Linked DNA regions of Homo sapiens: region 2 is linked to region 1. Evidence: promoter capture Hi-C in 16 types of primary human blood cells and fetal thymus (Javierre and others, 2016). All regions are on one chromosome and are shown on one strand. Each heading gives the region's core, a stretch centred on a gene start or on the middle of the fragment in contact. The rest is flanking DNA. Distances are from core to core; before and after follow the strand shown. Region 1 holds the start of MLLT3 (MLLT3 super elongation complex subunit). Region 2 overlaps LOC105375988 (a long non-coding RNA gene).

What was found. The method cuts DNA at HindIII sites, captures the fragments that hold promoters and counts their contacts. A CHiCAGO score of 5 or more calls a contact.
Region 2: a fragment that was not itself captured here is called in contact with the fragment with the promoter of MLLT3 in region 1 in 1 of 17 cell types (M0 macrophages); the score reaches 5.3 in M0 macrophages.

What each region holds. Positions count from the first base shown.
Region 1 is chr9:20,621,218-20,624,746 of GRCh38, forward strand. MLLT3 (MLLT3 super elongation complex subunit) reads right to left here and starts at 1,282. Exons shown (of 11, transcript NM_004529.4): 1 at 1,028-1,282. The coding sequence starts at 1,039. RefSeq lists silencers at 571-620, 691-840, 1,261-1,720, 1,741-1,880. The HindIII fragment of the contact is 2,564 bases long and covers 1-2,018 here.
Region 2 is chr9:19,496,104-19,499,763 of GRCh38, forward strand. The region is part of intron 4 of LOC105375988 (a long non-coding RNA gene); the gene reads left to right. Among named protein-coding and RNA genes, the nearest start is that of MAP1LC3BP1, 35 kb to the left of the region's middle. The HindIII fragment of the contact is 843 bases long and covers 1,049-1,891 here.

The sequences.
Region 1 (3,529 bases), core at 32-2,531:
TGGCTGGGACCCAGGGGGACCGAAGGGCTCCTGGCGAGCCCCCTCCCCGAAAGTACCGCGGCGACAGGCACACGCCGAGGAAGTCTTTGTGTACGTGTGTGTGCGTGCGTGTGGAGCGCTGTGCCAGGCGAAATGGAAACTACAGGCAGCCTCTGCTGATGGGCACAAACTCCCGTGCTCTTGCCACGGGGTTCGTGCACAACAAAAATGAGACGTCGTCATACACACTGAAACACACACACACGCCCGCAGGAAAACACGCCGAGGCATCCATAACTTAGAGCACCCCGCACCCCCCAGCGAAAAGCCCCACGCGATCGGCGAGGCCAGTCGAACCGAGCCCCCGCAACACACTTTCAAGAGCCCAAGTGGCTCCAAAGTATCTCCCACCTCCCCCCAAAAAATGAAATTCAGAAAGGCAGGGCGGCGGGCGGACAGCCGCCGAGCCTCGGCTCGCGCTCAGCACCTCCCGGCGCTGGGGCAAAGTTGCGTGCGGCCCCGCCGCTGTCAGCCCCGCACACTTCGGCTCACACACGCGCGCCGCGGAGAACGCACCATCGTAGCGGCCGCGGCGCTTTGCGGAGGTGCGGCCGCCGAGGCTGCTCGCCGCGTCCCCGGACTGTGCCCGCAGCTCCCGGCGGCGGCGGCTGAAATATGGCTGAGTTATTATTCGCCTCCTTCCACCGTGTGTGTGTGTGTGTGTGAGTGCGCGCGTGTGAGCGAGAGGGAGTGTGTGAGTGCGCTTCTTGTGACTGCAAAGAGGCGAGGAGGGAGGGAGGCGCGGGGGGTGGAGGGGCGAGTGTGAGCGTGTGTGAGTGTGTGTGTGTCTGTGTGTCTGTGTGCGCGCCGGGGGGGGGTGGGGGAGGAGGGGAGCGGAGGCTGAGGGAGAGGCGGCAGCTCCCTGCAAGCCGTACCAACCTTTCTCTAATTGGAACCGCGGAGCGCTGGCGCTGTCTGGGCTGCGGCGGCGCAGGGCGAGGAAGGAAAGTGGGGGAGGGCTTTTATTATTATTTTTGCGCGTACTTACCGAGCTAGCCATGCCTGGGGGCCCGGAGGTTTGCTGGGGTGTTGTGTGGTACCCCCCCCTCCTCCGCCCCCCCTCAGCTGTAATTCATGAAGAGGCTGCTATGAATGAGAGCGCGCCCAGGAGCGGAGGGTAGATGGCGGACATTCTCTGCCTTTTTCCCCCCGCGCTCGCTTGCTCGCTCGCTCGCTTATTAAACTCAGCCCCAAAAGCAAAAGCAGCAGCAGCAGCAGCAGCTCCAGGGTAAAGAAGATGATTGCGGAGCATGCGCCGTGGCGCCTGACACCCGGGCTCCGAGCCTCACAGGGCGGAGGGAGGGCTTGCGGGCGGGGCGGAGCGCGCGGGGAGGCAGAGCGAGCGAGCCAGGGGGAGCTCGAAAGAGCCAATCACCTGCCACCTCCCGAAACCCCGGCGGCCCGCAGCGCCACACTGGAAAGCCTCGCTTAAAGTAACAGGTTCCTGCTGGGGGGGTGGCAGGGAGGGGACGCAGGAGTGGGGAGAGCGGCCAGCTGGGGAGCCATCCCAGCCCCTGTGTAAACTCTGCTCGCCCTACAATAAAAAACGGATTAAAACTGCTGGAATGTAGCCACTGCTTAGAGCCCTCAGCAGCCGGAGAGGGGGTGTTAAATCAAGTCCTTAGCTAGTACGCACGGGGAGGAGGGAGTGGGCTTTCTTTTACTTTCCACCACGTATTTCTGTGGTTTTGTGCTGAAAAGACAAGAACTCACACCCAAACAAACTTACTTAAAGAGAGCGAGAGAAATGCCATCCTGCAAAAAACGAGCATGAAAATAGCAATGACTGAGGCTGTTCTAACCCGCAACGATCCCCTGGCCCCCTGCCCCATCCACTCACAGGCACCCGCCCGCCACCCTCACTCCCCGCCCTTCTGCCACCGCCACCGAAAATTTGAAAATGAAATGAACAAGGGAGAAACAAGGATGCTATTTCCTTGCAAGGGAACGCCTTCCGCTTTGGTAATCCCCGGCTGGGAAGCTTCATAAAGCGGTGCCCAGGTGAAAGCAAGACACCTGGGAGTGCCGGGTACAGACCCTCGGGGACCAGGCTTGGAGTTGTTTTCTTCGGGGGGCTTCCCCTCCTGACAGCCTACTGAGTTGCATCAGAACGTGGAGGATTGTCCTCTGAGGACGCGCGGGGCAACCGGGAGTCTTAAAATAGCAGATAAAGTTAATACTGACTGTAATGTGCGTAAATTGGATTATAATCTTTAGGCGTATTGGTGACAACCAGCGTAATCCATCTCTGAGTATTAATCCGGTTAGACTCCCGGGTGACAGCCAGTCGCAGGAGTGTTCCCAGAGTCGCGCCTCTGCAAATGTTCTCACTCGCGTTGTATTTGATCTCAGTGGCCGGAGATAGAACAGCGCGGCCACGCGTGGGGCGCGGAGAGGAGTATCAACTACTGGCTTCCTTTACAGACGCAGATAACCTTTAAAAAGGAAACGGATAAGATCTAGACGATTGATTTGAAAGTGAAAGATGGATGTGACTTTGGTTCGTTAAAAAAAGATCCTTGCATCTTCCTAGCCCTTAGACCTCTTTTGCCTTCTCTTTACTCCCCTTTTTCCCTCGCCTTCCAACTTCTTGCTGAACCTTGATTTTTCCTTCTCTTCTCCTTGCCTTTCCTCTTTGTCCCTCTTTCTTTCCTCTTTGTCCCTTTCTTTCCTCTTTGTCCCTTTCTTTCCTCTTTGTCCCTCTTCCTCTTTCTGACTGAACTTCCTTGCTTTCCTCTTTTCCCTTTACTTCCCTTTTCCACAAAAGCAAGTTGTCTCGGCCCTTGAATTGAGAAGAGCAGAATAGCGGGGAGGACGTTACCTAGGGCGTCCTGTGTCCTCGCTGTTAATTTTCAGTTCTCCCAGCAGCTCTCACAAAGATCCTGGGAATCAGGTCGGACCACTTGGAACCAACCTTAGTTTCCAAACCAGCAGCCTTCCAACTCAACTTTTGATTCCCTAAAACTGATATTCCGCTGCCTGTCAGTTATAATCAAGAAACTTCTTTGGCTTGAGGTCCCCAGTTCTTCCCAGCCTTCTACAGGATTTAGCATAGAATGGAGCAAACGACTGAAGGTAGAAACATTTTAATCTAAATCCAAGGGCTTAGATTTGTCAACTGACACACATATACATAACTGCATATCATCCTGTAGGTATATGCGTCGCTGTGTCTGTATGTATGTACAAGGACTACGTTTATATTCGCAGAGACAAGCTGTGTGGGTAGTATCTACGTGAAGGGGGGACCTATTTATTGTGCATTATTAAACTTTTCATAAAATAATCAAATTTGAGAGCAGTCCTTTGTAATAATAGTATTGGAAACTAAAGGTTATCTGGACGTGCCATTAGTAAAGCCATTTCTTATTAAGAAGTAACCATTAACAGCGAGTGTAGCTCAGGACACAGGCAAAAAACAACAATCCCATTCCCCGTTTGAGTTCATTTCAGGGTTTAACTTCTTCCGGCGCCAGCCACCGGACTCTCT
Region 2 (3,660 bases), core at 220-2,719, 1.1 Mb before region 1:
TTTCAATGGCAAAAACAGCAATTACTTTTGCATCAAGCTAACACTATTTTGTCTTCCTCTGTGGACAGTGAAGTGGTTGAGAACAGGGACTGAGACTTATGTTCCCTGGTGCCACAGTGTTAAGCCCTGTATCTGGCACATCACACGTGTTGAATCCCTGTTGTTGAATGCGTGAATGAACACAGGGCATTCTGCACGATCACTTGGAGAAACTCGAGATGAACTCCTTGTGCCAGTTACAATTTCCAGAGAGATCAGGGTGTTAGGCTAAATCGGATTCTTAATATTTTTTTCCATCCAACACTGCTGTGGGTTATGGACCACTTCCTGAGTGGAGGGCTGTCTATGGCTCTCACATGGAAGAACACACTGGAGGGGTTGGAGAGGGCAACTGGAAGTGGTGGGGGCTGGGTTTGACACAAGTAGTTTGAAAAAGCCTCCTATTGTTTCAGGTGCCCTTCAGGTACAGCCTGTTGGTTGAGAATCATTGAGCTGGAGAGATAAGGTGCTAGGGCAAAATTCTAGGCAATAGTCCAGAGATGGACAGGGAATTTGAGGATGCTGCGCACAGACACAGTCTTCCTTCCATCTCTCAGGCTCTTTTGAAGACCATCCCTGAATTAGACCAATGAGAATGAATGGCACTATTTTCCCCACAAAAAACGTGTTCTTTTTCTTCCCCCATGAAGTCTAGTGGAACTGATACTGAGATTGATTACACATTTGAGTGAGCTCCTGGGAAGAAACAGGGAAGTTAGAATGTTTACAACTTTCCCTGCCCTGATTCATTTCAAGGACATGGGTCATTAGCCTCTGCCAGCAGACAGAGATAGGTGCATAAATTCCGACCATTTTGTGATCAAATGTGGGCATAACGTTTTTTGATCCTTGAGGTGATTGTTATTATTTACTGGAAATTCCATTATTAAATTCCAGCAGCAAAAGTCTTTCTCTTCTTTTCTCATAGTTCTCACTAATTAAAACCTGCTATTAGTCATTGTCTGGCTAGAACTTAACTACTGACCTAACCTAAGCCTTTTAAACAAGAAGCTTTTTATCACAGTTCTTCAGATACTCTGGCTTGTGAGTGGCAAATCCTCAACCCTGACACCCATGTGCATCACGGCTCGCTGTGAAAACACCCTTGTTAACATGTAAAACACCTCCAGTGCATTTTGACTATTGCAGCAAAGACCATTCGCAAAATGAAAAAAACAGACCCTAATATCCAGTTCTGTTGCTTCATAGTGTGACCTCAGAAAAGTAAAATGGCCTATTTAGTTCTCATTATCCTCACTGACAGGAGAGACTAGAACATGGCAGTTAGGTTTTCCTTTGCATGCCAATGTGACAGGCTGGTAGCAGTTTCTTGGAATGTTCTGCTGAGAAAGGATAGTGGGAAGTGGTGCTGTGTTTCATTGCTGATGGGATCCCATGGGTAAGGGATCATGAGTGGCAAGATTTACCAAGTGTTTATCAATTCCAGGTTTGCAATATCTTAGGCCTGTCCCTGTAGAGAGATACAGAGTGTGGTTAATGTTCTAGTTGGCCCTAAAGGCAAAATTGACCAGGCAGTAGTTCAGTATTTCAGTATGTTTTTTGTAGGTATACATCATCACAGCCTCCAAAAGATGTGGGAATTCCGAGGTCTTTGGTGCACTTCAGAATTTTTAATGTCCTGGATGACCCTGCCACTTAGACTGAAATAAAGTCCTTCTTGGTATGTGCTTATTAACCAGGCCAGGCTATTAGATTCCCAGGTCACCTGGTATATTGCTGGATTAGGGTAGGTGGGGGGACGAAGACCAGTGGCATCCCAGGAAGCAATGGGTTTTCTGATGGATGTAGTATTATTAGAGTACTAAGACAATTAGGATATATGTAATCTTTAAGCTTAGAAAGTATTCAGATAACCCAACAAAGAACTCATGTTAGAGGTTTTCTGAATCTTAGAGAGGTTATATAAGTGTTCAAAGTCACATGAGGTGGGGAGGAGGGAGCTAACATCTTTTAAGAGCCTGTTATAAGCCAGGCACTTTATGGAGTTATAACTCAATCTTTCCAACAGCCCTGTGGGGGTAGTAATATAGTAATAGTATTACATAGGCAAGAAACTGGTGATTCAGAGTCATGGAATAACTTTCACATTGTTGCATAAGGAGAGACACAGAAAGTCAGTCTTCCCAACAGTCTGGATTCTGATCATAGTACACTTTGTGTCAAGACTTCTGTCTATTTCCTAACTTCCCAATTCATGGGGACCCCAGTAACTTGATACTTCTGACAACCAGGAAGTGGTATTAAAAAAGACCCATTCGTGATAAAGATGTTTGTAAGCCAACTGTCAGTATAAATAATTGCTATGGGAATTTTGAAGATATTAAAATTGAAAAGGGTTTTTAAGCCATTTAGAAGTATTTTTTTATATTCAAGTAATTGACAAGCTAATCAAAACTTCTTTATTAACATCAGGTTTCCCAAGTACTTCTGTAGGTCATTTATTGCTCACCAACTTCAAGAAATATTTAAAAGCCATAAATAAGAGTTATGCTTTCTTTTAAAAGGCTAAGGACTGACTATACAAGAGGTTAATTTGGCTACCTAGACAAAGTAAAAATAAGGAAGAGTGGACTTGGTGCTTCCAAGTGAGTTGAGGATGATAGAAAACAATTAGACCTGCTCAATTTGCATTTCAAGTCTGTCTCTCTGTCCAGAGAAGGGTTTGTGTCCTGAAGAAGATAAAACCAACATCAGTAACAGGGAACAAAGCCATTTGGGAAATAAGATGATAAAACTATATGGAAACAACTTAAGTGGTTGTAAGTCTCAAGACCTTGGGCAATGACCCGGAAGGGTAGTGAGACGAGAACTTTGTGTGTGAGAGCTCCAGACACCTGCGTGTTAACCCTCAGCGTACAGAGGAAAACAAAGACGAGCAAAACAACCACAGTCTTCAAGATGGAGAAAAATATTTCACGAGTATACTGAAGACCAGCTGGCTTGACGTTGGTTGAGGCCAAAATCTAGAGAACGTTATTAAAACAGGCTCCTTTTTTTTAAAATTATACTTCAAGTTCTAGGGTACATGTGCAGAATGTGCAGGTTTTTTGCATAGGTATATATGTGCCATGGTGGTTTGCTGCACCCATCAACCTGACATCTACATTAGGTATCTGTCCTAATACTATCCCTCCCCTAGCCCCCCACCCCTCCGACAGGCCCCAGTGTGTGATGTCTCCTCCCTGTGTCCATGTGTTCTCATTGTTCAACTCCCATTTATGAGAACATGTGGTGCTTTGTTTTCTGTTCCTGTGACAGTTTGCTGAGAATGATGGTTTCCAGCTTCATCCATGTCCCTGCAAAGGACATGAACTCATACTTTTTTATGGCTGCATAGTATTCCATGGTATATATGTGCCACATTTTCTTAATCCAGTCTATTGTTGGTGGACATTTGGGTTGGGTCCAAGTCTTTGCTATTGTGAACAGTGCCACAATAAACAGACCTGTGTGTGTGTCTTTATAGTACAATGATTTATAATCCTTTGGGTATATATCCAGTAATGGGATTGCTGGGTCAAATAGTATTTCTAGTTCTAGATCCTTGAGGAATTGCCATACTGTCTTCCACAATGGTTGAACTAATTTACACTCCCACCA